Linked DNA regions of Homo sapiens: all the other regions are linked to region 2. Evidence: promoter capture Hi-C in 16 types of primary human blood cells and fetal thymus (Javierre and others, 2016). All regions are on one chromosome and are shown on one strand. Each heading gives the region's core, a stretch centred on a gene start or on the middle of the fragment in contact. The rest is flanking DNA. Distances are from core to core; before and after follow the strand shown. Region 1 has its middle 13 kb from the start of MIR4679-1. Region 2 holds the start of CH25H (cholesterol 25-hydroxylase). Region 3 has its middle 11 kb from the start of ACTA2. Region 4 has its middle 3.1 kb from the start of MIR4679-2.

Evidence for each region. Contacts are between HindIII fragments. The CHiCAGO score rates a contact against its expected background, and 5 or more counts as called.
Region 1: a contact is called between a fragment that was not itself captured here and the fragment with the promoter of CH25H in region 2, in 16 of 17 cell types (M2 macrophages, megakaryocytes, M1 macrophages and 13 more). The highest score is 16.3, in M2 macrophages.
Region 3: a contact is called between a fragment that was not itself captured here and the fragment with the promoter of CH25H in region 2, in 3 of 17 cell types (naive CD4 T cells, total CD8 T cells and activated CD4 T cells). The highest score is 6.6, in naive CD4 T cells.
Region 4: a contact is called between a fragment that was not itself captured here and the fragment with the promoter of CH25H in region 2, in 5 of 17 cell types (M2 macrophages, M1 macrophages, M0 macrophages and 2 more). The highest score is 8.7, in M2 macrophages.

Annotation. Positions count from the first base shown.
Region 1 is chr10:89,048,628-89,052,085 of GRCh38, reverse strand. No RefSeq gene overlaps it. Among named protein-coding and RNA genes, the nearest start is that of MIR4679-1, 13 kb to the left of the region's middle. The HindIII fragment of the contact is 1,302 bases long and covers 1,168-2,469 here.
Region 2 is chr10:89,205,609-89,208,925 of GRCh38, reverse strand. It overlaps CH25H (cholesterol 25-hydroxylase), which reads left to right and starts at 1,609. Exons shown (of 1, transcript NM_003956.4): 1 at 1,609-3,297. The coding sequence starts at 1,634. The coding sequence ends at 2,452. RefSeq lists an enhancer at 1,768-1,837. The HindIII fragment of the contact is 3,745 bases long and covers 1,516-3,317 here.
Region 3 is chr10:88,961,708-88,965,205 of GRCh38, reverse strand. It overlaps a transcript of ACTA2 not described here and a transcript of FAS not described here. Among named protein-coding and RNA genes, the nearest start is that of ACTA2, 11 kb to the right of the region's middle. The HindIII fragment of the contact is 484 bases long and covers 1,484-1,967 here.
Region 4 is chr10:89,064,874-89,068,073 of GRCh38, reverse strand. No RefSeq gene overlaps it. Among named protein-coding and RNA genes, the nearest start is that of MIR4679-2, 3.1 kb to the right of the region's middle. The HindIII fragment of the contact is 1,371 bases long and covers 851-2,221 here.

The DNA.
Region 1 (3,458 bases), core at 569-3,068, 160 kb after region 2:
AATATTTTTAATTTTTTCTTTTGTTAAAATTTGAAACAAATATGACAAACTGCTGATATTTATTACACCTGGGTAATGGGAACATAAATATTTTATTAATGCACTATATTGTATAATGTTATATTATACTTCTATATACTGTAAACATATGAAATATATAGTATTGTATTACAATTAAATTTTTCAAAATAGACACAAACTCTTCCCAAGTTATTGTACTCCCAAGTTCTTGGCAGCAGGAACACTCCTCACAGTAACATCCTGCACCCAGCATCAACATGAATTTACATATTTAAATATTAACAGGATTTAGAGTTGGTCTCAGGAATAGGGAGCATTTGTCTTATTCTGTTCCAGGATCCCACCTGGATACTGGATTATATTTTGTTGTTATGTCTTCTAAGGCTCTTCTTGGCTATGACAGTTTCCTTGTTTTTAATGACTTTGAGAGTTTTGAGGACTGCATGTCAGGTATATTGTAGAATGTCTCTCAACTGGGATTTGTCTAATGTTTTCCCTTGATTATACTGGGTTTATGGGTCTTGGAAGGACGATCACATAGGTAAAGTGCCATTCTCACCACATCATATCTAGGGTTCATACTATCAACACGCTTAATGGCTTTGATGTTGGCCTCAATTACCTGGATGTGATAGTGTTTGTTCAGTTCTTCCATTGTAAAGTTACTTCCCCCCACCCCCACTGACTCTCATCTCTTTGCAAGGGAAGTCACCCTGCACAGCCCATGCCTAAGGAGTGGGGAGTGTCTACATCAATTATTTGGAATTTTTCTGCATGGAGAATTTGTCTCTTTTCCCCTATTTATTAATTTATTCAATTATCTGTTTCTATCAGTGTGGACTTGTGGATGTTTATTTTCTACTTTAGGTTATAATCCAATACTATGTTATTTTGTTGCTCAAATTGTTCCAGCTTTAGCCATTGGCAGCTCTTTTAGTTAGTTCCTGCAGGGCATATATTTTTATATAAGTATGCTATCTTATATGACATTCAGACTGTTGTATATATTCATTTTTAAATGTCAATTTATTCAAATTATAAAAGTAATACATGCTATGAGAGATAGATTTAATAATACAAAATGCATAAAAAGCTAAAGTCATATACAGCACATAACTCAGTATGAACATTTTAACATATTAAGCTTACTTAACACATTCTTTGGTCCTCAAAGGAACACAGTATGGAAAATATGTTGATGAAAGAGAATATTTGTCTCTGAATTATTTATTGATTTCTTCCTAATTAAAAAGAGAAATAGGCTGGGCGCGGTGGCTGAGGCATGTAATCCCAGCACTTTGGGAGGCTGAGGCTGGTGGATCACCTGAGGTCAGGAGTTCAAGACCAGCCTGGCTAACATGGTGAAACCCCGTTTCTACTAAAAGTACAAAAAATTAGCTGGGCATGGTGATGCGCGCCTGTAATCCCAGTACTCGGGAGGCTGAGGCAGGAGAATCGCTTGAATCCGGCAGACGGAGGTTGCAGTGAGCCGAGATTGTGCCATTGCACTCCAGCTTGGGCAACAAGAGTGAAACTCCGTCTCAAAAAAAAAAAAGAAAAAAAAGAAAAAGAGAAATATATATATTTTTCTTTTCTCTTAAGCACACAATTTTAATAAGTTCCTATTTCTTAGAATTTTGTATTGTAATTGTCATTTTAATTTTCCTGAGGCTGTAAATCTTAACTTCCTACTTTATTCAAGGCACAAGGATAAACTCTTAGAATGGAAGTTTTTGTGTGTTTTGTAAGTGTTTTTTTGTAAGATGTGATCAATGATTCAAATCACTTAGTATAACATTTTATTAAAAAAATAATTTTGCAAATTACTTGGCAATTAAAATGGTTATCATACATCCCTTCTTTGTAATTCATACAGACCAATACCTAAAAGTATAAAGAGCTAAGCCATTGTTGATGTACAGCTACTTAATAGAATATTACCGGTAGGATGATTATGATTTTTACTCAAAAAATGGCAAGAGATTCCAACCAACTAATCGAATGAAGAATGAGTTTCCAGAAAACACATTTCTCAGTACTGAGAATAAAGCAGAAGAGGAAAACTAAGTAAGACACTACACAGCCAAGCACTGGCCCCCAAACTCTAGAATCTTACTAGCAGGGTCTGGAATTTTTAGTTTTAAATTGATGGTAAAGATGAAGACCTGTAAGGAATATGTACATTCGCATTTTTATTCCTGATATTTTAATTTTAATAAATCTCTTTGCCATTAAAAGTTTACGTTTGAACCTTTTTTTTTCCTAAAAAGTGTATACGGCTATTGTATTTTTTGAGTCTTTGCAAAATCTCTCAGACTATTCTTTTCTTGTCCCCATAAATAAAAGAACGTTAATTCTAATTGTAATGGTTTCTGACTTGAAATTCCTATACTTTTAAAAATGGAAATTGAGTTTCTGATCTCCAGTTTTTGTCTTCTGAGGAAAGCTTTCAAGTTTAAATAAACTATTTGAAGCTACCTGGGTTTTAAATTAATATTCATTTATTACAGTAGAAATTTTAAAACCTAGGTTTTTTCAAGGTTTTATGTCTTTTGTCAATCTTATAAACTTATGTATTGAGTCAATGTTTTACAAATCAGAACTATTACTTCTGGAAGAGGCTTTGATAAGTGTTCAATTACCTCAATTTTTAAAAATTAGACTATTTACAAATTTAGTAAATTAAATTATTTAAATATTTTAAATGCATTCCTAATTACATTCAATTTTCTTTTTAAATACTTTAAAATTTGGAGCCCTATCAAGTTTTTCCTAAATACTTAATCATACACTTAATAAATTAACTTACAAATATAGTTAATCTCAAATACCTTAAGCACACAATACAGTTTATTTATTTTGGCAAATTATTTTATAACATTCAGCTTAATTCCAAAACTCTAAAATTAATCACATAGTTTATTAGGAATTGCAAGCTTTATATGTCACAATCTCTTAAACACTACAAACATTTTAAATTCAAATATTGGGAGACTATCCAAAACTTATTCTCCTTTATTTTTTTTTTTTTTTTTTTTTTTTTTTGACAGAGTCTTACTCTGTCGCCAAGGCTGGACTGCAGTGGCACGATCTCGGCTCACTGCAACCTCTGCCTCCTAGGTTCAAGCAATTCTCCTGCCTCAGCCTCCTGAGTAGCTGGGAGTACAGGTGAGCACCACCATGCCTGGTTAATTTTTGTATTTTTTAGTAGAGACAGGGTTTAACCATATTGGCCAGGCTGGTCACTTATTCTTAAACCTAGCACATAAATTGTAAATCTACAAGTTTGGTTTACCTTTTATTATTAATTTCCCAGGGATGAAAAACTATTTGTGTAAAGAAAACCAGAGTAATACTATTAACATGACATTACCTGATAAGATGAATTGACACTACTTTCAGGTGGAATTGAAGTTATTGTCTTTGTTCGGGCTGCT
Region 2 (3,317 bases), core at 360-2,859:
TGTAAACCCACAGCAATAATAATAATCCTACTTCTTGGCAGGGTGAGGAAGCCAGCTTTTTTGAGGATTGGATAAAATCAATTCAGATAAAACATTTAGCCAATGCGTGGCACCTAGTAGGTGGGCTTTACACGGTAGACTTATTATTTTTCCATTTAATACTCCAATTTCCCTTTGTGGGGAATCGGGGGGATAAGAAAATGCAAGCTTCAAGGAGTAAAGGGCTGGACACAACCACATAGATACAAGACACTAAGCAAGAATTAGGAGTGCTCCCTGGCTTCAAAGCTGGTGTCTAAAACGTCTATCCCCTAAGGGGCCCTTGTATCGTGTCATGTGTCAGACCCCGGGTTGAACGCGAGGATTTTTGTGCTGTTCCCAGGGTCTCTCAAGAGCTCTCCTAGTACCGACCTCCTTGTGCTCGGTGGCCCCTGGCCCGAGGACCCCAGATGGGTGGCGGAGAAACGCAGGGGATAGAGACTAGCCCCCTAGCCGGGCTCCGTGGGCCCGGAGTGGATTCAAGGACCGGTGGCAGAGGGCGACTGCAAGTTGGCCCCGCAAAGCCAACAAGGGGAAGGGTAGGGTAGTGACGACATCACCTGGTCCTTCAATAGCCTCCCGGGAGGCTTCAGGAACTCACATCTCTTTCCCTTGACGAACAACGCAGGTGGTTTGCTGAATTAAGTGTTCCCGCCCCAAATTGAGATACAACGGGCTTTTTAGCCAGATTGGCGCAGACTGGGAGTTAAATCCAGCATTTTCCCGGCAAAGCTGAGCCTGGCCGCCGCGGAGCCCTCTTTCCGCTGTGCGGTGCCTCCGGCTCCGATCGCGGGCCCGGCGCCCCGGGACGCGCCGCCGAGGGTAGCTACGCGGCCGGGCTGCGGCCTCTCCCGGAGAGCCTGCGTGCGTGGTCTCTCTAGCTTGCTGCCCGCCGGCCAGGAAAACTCTGGGGACAAGCTGGAGCTGGCGGAGGTTCCCATCCGGCCACCCTTCCCGTCTGATTTCCTGAGCTGACGGTCACCGCCGGCGTTCGGGGACCAGCGGTTCCCTGTGCAAAGGGCTCGTTTCTCGATCGCCGCTGGATAGACCGCAACCGGGTTCTCAGAAAACACCCGAGCTACAGACCGCATGTAGCTTTAAACAGTTTTTAAAATGCGATTATGCTTGCGTCTTTATGAAAGCACATGGATGCAGTTATACGTATGCATTAAAAAACACAAACAATTCTGCATTGATTGCAAAGGAGCGCTTTCTGGTGGCAATGTAAACGGTCTAGTTTGAGACCCGTGATGACACACGTGAACTGAGTTGCCAAACTCATAGAAACTCCACACGGTAGATCTGTACATTGTGTCCCGTGTTAATTGTACGTCAACTGAAAAATCAGAACTTACATGAAAAGTACGAAGTGCCACTGCATACACGCATATCTAAAAGCCGGTAAGATGCGGCTATAGATGAGCACATTTACAGCAATGAAGGGCCACTCTGCCGGGTTGCTAGCTTATTCAAGCTTCGCATCGCCGGGAAAGGGATGGAAAGGCAGCTGACATCACTCGGGGCGGGGCCGTGAGTCCTGTGAAAAGTCGATGGGACTCGAGCAGCAGCCTCAGCTGCCTTGCACAGCCTCGCAATGAGCTGCCACAACTGCTCCGACCCCCAGGTCCTTTGCAGCTCCGGGCAGCTGTTCCTGCAGCCCCTCTGGGACCACCTGAGGAGCTGGGAGGCCCTCCTACAGTCGCCCTTCTTCCCGGTCATCTTCTCCATCACCACATACGTGGGCTTTTGCCTGCCCTTCGTGGTCCTGGATATCCTGTGCTCCTGGGTGCCCGCCCTGCGGCGCTACAAGATCCACCCTGACTTCTCGCCATCCGCGCAGCAGCTGCTACCTTGCCTGGGGCAGACCCTCTACCAGCATGTGATGTTTGTGTTCCCCGTGACGCTGCTGCATTGGGCCCGCAGCCCGGCCCTCCTGCCCCACGAAGCTCCCGAGCTGCTCCTGCTGCTGCACCACATCCTGTTCTGCCTGCTACTCTTCGACATGGAGTTCTTCGTGTGGCACCTGCTGCACCACAAGGTGCCCTGGCTGTACCGCACCTTCCACAAGGTGCACCACCAGAACTCGTCCTCGTTCGCGCTGGCAACGCAGTATATGAGCGTCTGGGAACTGTTTTCTTTGGGCTTCTTCGACATGATGAACGTCACACTGCTCGGGTGCCACCCGCTCACCACCCTGACCTTCCACGTGGTCAACATCTGGCTTTCCGTGGAGGACCACTCCGGCTACAACTTCCCTTGGTCCACTCACAGACTGGTGCCCTTCGGGTGGTACGGGGGTGTGGTGCACCACGACCTGCATCACTCTCACTTTAACTGCAACTTCGCTCCGTACTTTACACACTGGGACAAAATACTGGGAACGCTGCGGACTGCATCTGTCCCAGCGCGGTGATGTGGCTGCGGTGGGTGCCCCTAAGACTCGGGACTGCTGTGCCTTTCACACTTGAATGAAGAGAAACACCTGAGCTATATATTTTTTTAAAGCAACTAACTTATTGCTTTATGTTTATCTATGAAAACCATAGATAAAATCTGATGCATTTTTGTAATCTGACAAAGTAATTTACATACTGTTTGTGTATCAATACAATTTTGTGTTCTTGGTATTCTTAGTCTAGCTCACCTCAATAGCCTTGAATCCTGCATATGAATTAGACATTCATCACTGGCATATTTAGAATATCTCTAAAAGGACTTGTTTGTAGAATAAGGAATTTTCTATGTTTCAAAGTGTTCTAAAACCTGGCTAAAAGAATGTATTTTTGTGGATGGTGTTGACTTCTGACTCTAAAAGCAATCAAACATGTTTCTGCTGGACAGTGACCAAGAATTATAGTACCTTCTTATATTTTTTTATAGAACTGTATATTTATTTTGAAAGAAATGTTATTCGTGCTTTAAAAAGGAAAAAAAACCATGAATCAAATAAGTATTGACTTCCGTTTCACTGGTATTTTGACTGATAAAAAAGGGAAGAGGGAGCGGGCATACCAAGTGTCCTTCTAAGCCTCCATCAGCCTCACCATGGAAAGAGAGGAATCTGGGTGTAGGGTGTTCTGTTGGGGGTTGTTAGAGAAAAGGAGGCAGGAGAAGGGGCTCTGTTTGTTGTGCTCTAGCAATTTCATGGAGGAAAAACACGCTAATATTCTTAATGCTTTTCAGCTGATTTCTGTATAACAGGCAAATGATAGGATTACTCTGTAAAGTTTCATAGAAAGATTAACGCTGAGCAGTCAATCATTTTATTATTTGTGGGA
Region 3 (3,498 bases), core at 476-2,975, 240 kb after region 2:
AAATGTGAGAAAATATAAGAGCTTACATCAAGTAAGTGTGCTGATGAAATCACTGGAGTGATTGGAGCATTCTCCCTGTAGAAAAAATGCATCTAAGAAGGTTTGCTGTAGATGAATTTTGAGTAGACTTTTAAAATAAGGCAGAAACATGATTTGGCAGAAGAAGAAAAGGGAAGCTATCCCCGGCTCTGGAAATAGAATACACAGGGCTGGACTATATGAATTTGTGTGTTGTGGGGAAGGAGGAAACTTAAGACACTAAAAATGTTTGTAAAGCTTGGAGTGAAAGTTGCAAAGGAGCAGCAAACAGGAGGGCAGAGGAAAAACAGGCGGGCAAAAGAAAGTTACAAAGGAGCAGCAGAACGGGTGCCTCCTTTGAATGACCATGCTTTCATAATACCTTAATTTGTACAGCTGCAAACAGGGAAGGAGACCAGTTGGTACAAGATATGTAGATACTTTTTGCTGAAGGGTAGCTGAATATGCCACCCCAAAATATGCCTCTCTGGCATAAGGATTATTTTGGGTTGAAAGCAATCGAGAAGTAGATACAAAAAATCTCTCTGCCCTACCCCTATTTGCTTAAAAGCAGGACATACACTTATAAAGGTGTCCCTCCTTCCCTCTCTACCAAGAAGGACAAAGGTTGATCACCAGGGATGACCTTAGGCCCTTGCTTGCCTGAAGATGGCACAGGGAAATCTACATAACAGACTTTACTATATAACCTTTTGTCTATCATTAGTTTCCCATGTATTTGTTTTCCCACAATTTGCCACCCCTAGAAACTCAAGATCCTTTCCCCTTGTCTTGTTACTTCCCCACCAATGTGTTGTTCTTTGTTGATGATGCCACATAAACCAGAGTTCTAAGCCACTTCTTTGAGAATTGCTCATTCCCTGGGTATCTCCCATATATACGTGAAGCCTATTTGTTAATAAACTTCTGTTCGCTTTTTTCTTTTTCATCTGCCTTTTTTTGCAGGGGTTCCAGATAAGAATTCGGAAGAATAGAGAGAGAATTCTTTTTTCCTCCCATACAATGCAAAATATGTGAAACTAAACTAAAATATATTAAACTAAAGTAAATATATGAAACTAAAGTAAACTAAAATATATAACAAAATACACAAATTATAGAATAAAATAAAAAAATATAAAAACATATGAAACTAAACCAAAGTAAAGTAAACTAATATAGAACTAAACTTAGGTAGGGCCTGTTAGGAAAACTAGGAATACAAAATTAGACGCCAAAGTAGGAAAGAGCCTTTTAGTCTAGCTAAAAGAGGATTAGAAACTGTAGCATTGTAATAAAGTGTGGACATGCAGAAAAAAAGACAAGTTTAAGAAAACCTGCCGGAATGTATAGCTAAACAAAGACTGTACATCCCATCCTGGTTCTTTACAAGCCAAACACGGATATTAGTTTGATTACTCCAGAACCTACTTCTTTTTTGACCCAAAATGGTAATGCCCAAGCTTGTCAACTCACCTTCTTCACTAGCCTCCAATGAGAATGGCATTTGGCTGCAGACAAAAATCAAATTCACCCTCCAGGGACAGAGACGTGCCAACACTACAGTGATCCAAAAGTATTTGCTATTGGTTTAAATAGGTCCAGAGATCTGAGCATTGGTAAGCATTGCTGAAACTGCTGAACTTCCCAGAGTGACCTCTAGGAGAGGGACAAAAAATGTCTTGACTAAATAAAATAAGGTGAGTGTAAAAAATTTAAAATTCTCATGAGATTCTAGTCATCCCTTTCCTAGTAAGTCAGACTTACTCCTGACGAGTAAGAAATAAACTACTTTATTCATCTTATTATCTATGTAATAAGTACTATACTTGGGGACATGGTAGGCATTAAATAAATGTAAGTTCCATTCCCCTCTGAGAATCTCTGGAAATAAATTTACACTAAGACATTAGTAGGCATTTGCTCCAAACCTATGCTGCTCAAAAGCTTCCCAGAAAATTGGCATCCTGGAAATTTTCTGATTTTCTTACTGATATGGTTTGGCTGTGTCCCCACCCAAGTCTCATCTTGAATTGTAGCTCCCATAATCCCCATGTCATGGAAGTGACCTGGTGGGAGGTAATTGAATCATGGGGGTGGGTCTTTTCTGTGCTGTTCTCGTGACAGTGAATAAGTCTCATGAGATCTGATGGTTTCATAAAGGGGCGTTCCAGCTTCATCCATGTGCCTTTTTGCAAAAAAAAAAATATTATATATATATATATATATATATATATATATATATATATATATATATATATATATATATATATATGGGGCATTCCCCTGCACTCACTCTCTTGCCTGCTGCCATTTAAGAAGTCCCTTTGCTCTTCCTTCACCTTCCACCATGATTGTGAGGCCTCCTCAGCCATGTGGAACTGTGAGTCCATTAAACCTCTTTCCTTTATAAGTTACCCAGTCTCAGGTTATGTCTTTATTAGCAGCATGAGAACAGAGTAATACACTTATGAAGTTTATTCCACATCATGGTAATCACGTGCTGATAAAATGGTCATTTCTTTTTATTTTAGACACTGAAATAGTGTGTGACACTCTTACGTTCATACACTTGGGATATAACACCATCTGTGGTATTTGTCACCAAAGACAATTAGCCAAGAGCTTTTGTTACTACTTCCTTCCTAAGCAAAACTTACAGAACCACATCTAAGAAGCTGATAACAAAGTAAGGCAGGCAGATGCCTGTCTGAAATATCCTAACTGAGACTATCTCCTCTTTTTTTAAACCACTAATCCTTGATGACATTTCATACTTTTGTTTTCTTATTATTTAATTACCTATTGAAATACTGTAGGTTGGGTTGTCAGGAAGCACTGGAGCTGTGATTGGATTGGTTATTGTTTGTAGATCAGAATTTACAAACTGAAGACCCACAGCAAACATTGATTTAGCCTGTTGTCCTTTTTTAAAAATGTTAGTTAATTGCCATCATTTTAAATGAAGGGATTTTTGCACAAAGGTTACAATTTCTACCTTCTCATAAAAAGTGGAAGATCTGGCAACTCTGAACTAGCATTACAACAACAGATGGGGCTGAGTGGTGGCCAATCCCTTGCAGGAGACCTAGGTCCTCTGTTTATCAGAAGTACCACTTGGCCTTTTCAGTCATCCTTGCCCCAATAGGCATCTGAATTTGCAAAACTTGTCTTAGATTTTGGAATATAGATTACTGATGCATGGCAAAAATATCATATAAAGGGTGTGCACACAGAGAAGTTAAGAAGTTAAGAAGTAGAAAGGCAAATCAATGCAGCCATTATAATCCTGTCATTTATATTTTCTAAGGCACCATCAGTAAACACTAAGGTTTGTGATTTTCACTGAATAATAAAGCCTAGTACCTTTTCATTGAAACCTAGCAAACACCATCAGAGAATAAGGACAAAGGGAAGACTGCATAGAATGTCAGAACTAGAAGAAAACTGAGAGGTGAATTAGCACAAAGTCTTCATTTT
Region 4 (3,200 bases), core at 287-2,786, 140 kb after region 2:
TTTTTTGTGATTTTGTATTGAATCACAAAGAAGGAAATGATTAGAACTTTAATTTGGCATCTTAAAAGAGAAAAATAATAGCTAACACTTAAATACTTTACTTTGTATATGCCAGGTACTATTCAAAGCATTTTTTCATGTAATAACTAATAATCTTCACTTTGCGAATGAGGAAACAGTGACACAGAGAGGTTAAGTGACTTATCTTAGGTAAAAAAAAATGGGAGTAAATAGATGAGCCCAGATTTGGAGTTAGGCAGGTGGGCTCCAGAGTCCATGGTGCACTTTGCTATACTGCCTTTCAATCTCATTTATTTAATAATTTACACTTTTCTTGCTGTTGTGTGATTTTCCTTTAATGTGTATGTGAGTACATATACTCCAATTATTTTAATTGCTATCCTGGTCTTCCTGTTCTGTCATGAATCAATGCCATTCTCTGTTTCTTTCTTTCTTTTGGTAGTTTCAAATGCATTTTAATACCTGTGAGGTCAATTCTCACTGTTTTAATTTTTCAATTTTTTTCCTAACTACTCCATTATCTTTATTCATACAGATGAACTTTGAAATCATTGTACCAGGTTTCTAAAAAATCATCTAGTGATATTTTCAATTGATTGTATTAAACTTGGAAATTATTTTGAGAAGAAATGATACATTTATAGGACTTTGGTTCACTACATTTATCCTTTTATAAATAGCATTCTTATTTATTTGCAAGACTGATCAATAATAAAACGGGAAGGTATAAGTGAAATAGAATGAAAAAGGATTTTGGACACAACACAAATTTAGATATATTAAATGAGTACTGTAAATAATTCATAAGTATGGCTGCTTATAAGAAGCTTTTGGTATTTAAAACTTGTAAGGGATTAATATCTGGAAAATACAAGAAGCTCCTGCAAATCAACAAGAAAAACAATAATAGACTACTAGATAAGTAGTCTAATAGTCAAATTAAAAAAAATCAACTGTCACCTTACTTGTTAGACTGGACAAATTAGGAAGCTGGATAATATTACACAGCTGTGCTGTGCTCAAATGTCTCTGTGAATATGTTGGTAGTTCATCTCTGTGGGAGTTTGGTTATTGATTCTAAAAATTCCTTCTCTGATTGCACTTCTTCAGGATCAGGATGATATATCACTTTTTTCTTCCTTCAAATAAGTGTATTTGAAAATAAATACACATGAGATTTCTATATAATATCACTATACACAAACAAGAATGGCTAATATTTAAAAAGACTGATAATAGTAAGGATTAATGAATATGTGGATAAATCAGAATTCTCACATACTTCAGTTGAGTATAATTTGAAATAGCCACTTTGTACAGTTAGTATTTATTATCTACTAAAGCTAAAGGCATCCTTATTTTTTGATCTGGCAATTCCACTTTTAGGTATATAACCAAAAAAATAACATGCAATATGCTCCTCAAAATACAATCACTGAAATGCTTATTGCAGCATTAGTTGTAAAAGTCAAAAACTGGGTGTGGGGGGCAATCCCCAATACCCATCAGCATGATAGGTGAACAAATGTGATATATCCACACAATGAAATATTACACTGATCTACAGACACATGCAAAAATATGGAGGAGTCTCACAGACATGGTGTTGAGCGAAAAAAGCCAGACCAAAAAAGAGTACATACTGTATGAGCCATTTTATATAACACAAAAACTAGTGGAACTCCTCTATGCTGCTAGGTTACCCCTGGATGGGCAGGGCTGGAGGGAGCCTGGGGGGGTTTCTGAGATCCTGTTGTTATCCTGATTTTTTATTTGGCTTCTGGTTATGTAAATGTGATTAGTTTGTGAAAATTTGTTGTGCTGAACACTTAGGATGTACATACTTTTCTGCAGGTATGTTGTACTTCAATAGAATGCTTTTAAAGTACATGTATGCAGTTTTCCCTGCAGAGGCTCAGTGAAGAGGGCAAACTGTCAGTCTCTCAAGACAGTGAGTGGTTTTGATCTTTCTCAGACAATGATCCTTGATTCCAGAGAAAAGCCTGGCCAGATCCCATAACTTTTAACCATAAAGAACCAGATAGACCAAAGTGAATGTTTAAAATATAGTTAACCTATTTTTCAGATTTCAAAAATGGTTGAGTGGAAAAAAAATCAATAGTATTTTCAACTAGAAAGACTGTCCCATATTGACCTTTATATTAATTTTCTGGATAGTTGAATTTGGAATTTCAAAGCTTGTAGGGGTTTCTTTGGGGAAAAATGTGAGTTTTCCAGTGATAGTGTTACTAACTATACAGCTTGGAAGTCTGCATCTATTTTGACAAAATAATTTGTGTTTAGTTTACTAATATTGTAATATATTCAATTCTTTTGGAGAAAGAAAACAGACATATTTGTGGATAATTTGCATTGCCTCTTCTCTTAAAGTTTTGCAAATAATACATGATCAATGTTCAAGATGCCATTTCTCTTAGGAATTCAAATTCAGCCATCATTAATAGAGAACTTCCTTTGCACAAAGCACCATTCTGGATATTTTATATTTTTCAATTTAATTTTTATTTCAATTGTGTGATGTGGATATTTAACACCATTATATAGATAAGGAAACTATAGCTATCGAGGTTGATTTATCCAGCTAGAATTCTGACTCTAAATCTAGGACTTTTAAAATATCGTGCTAGGTAAACTTCACAGACTGTCTTCTTCTAGAAAATGTCATTGCAGAGAAATCTAGGAGGCAGGGAGCCATATCCTGTTGTCACCAAGGCATCATCCTATGCTCATAAATCAGCAGATGTGAGGCCAGGAGAAGCAGGTATGGAGAAAGGAATACAGGCTCAGGAAGGTTACGGGCAGACAGGGAGAGCTTGCCAGGGAGAGTTTTCTAAGCATTTCCATTCTTTTCTACTTAGGATGAGGGCTAAGCAAACAAAATACAGTCCACAGTTTTTTTCTCTGAATCAAACATGAGTTTGACGACCTTATTATAGGGAAATTTACCAGCCCTTTTTCATCTGCACAAGATATTGGTAAGAAGAAACAAACCACAGAGCCCTTTTGTCCCATGATCTTGACCTTGGAATTGCTAAAGAATGTGCTCGTTTTTCTTTGTCAGTAGCTGTATTGGAACTGAAGAGTGAAGAAATTGAATTTTGTAAACAGAGTTTGGAAAAGACGCACTTTGGTTCCAGGAAAGAATTCACAGTGACTCC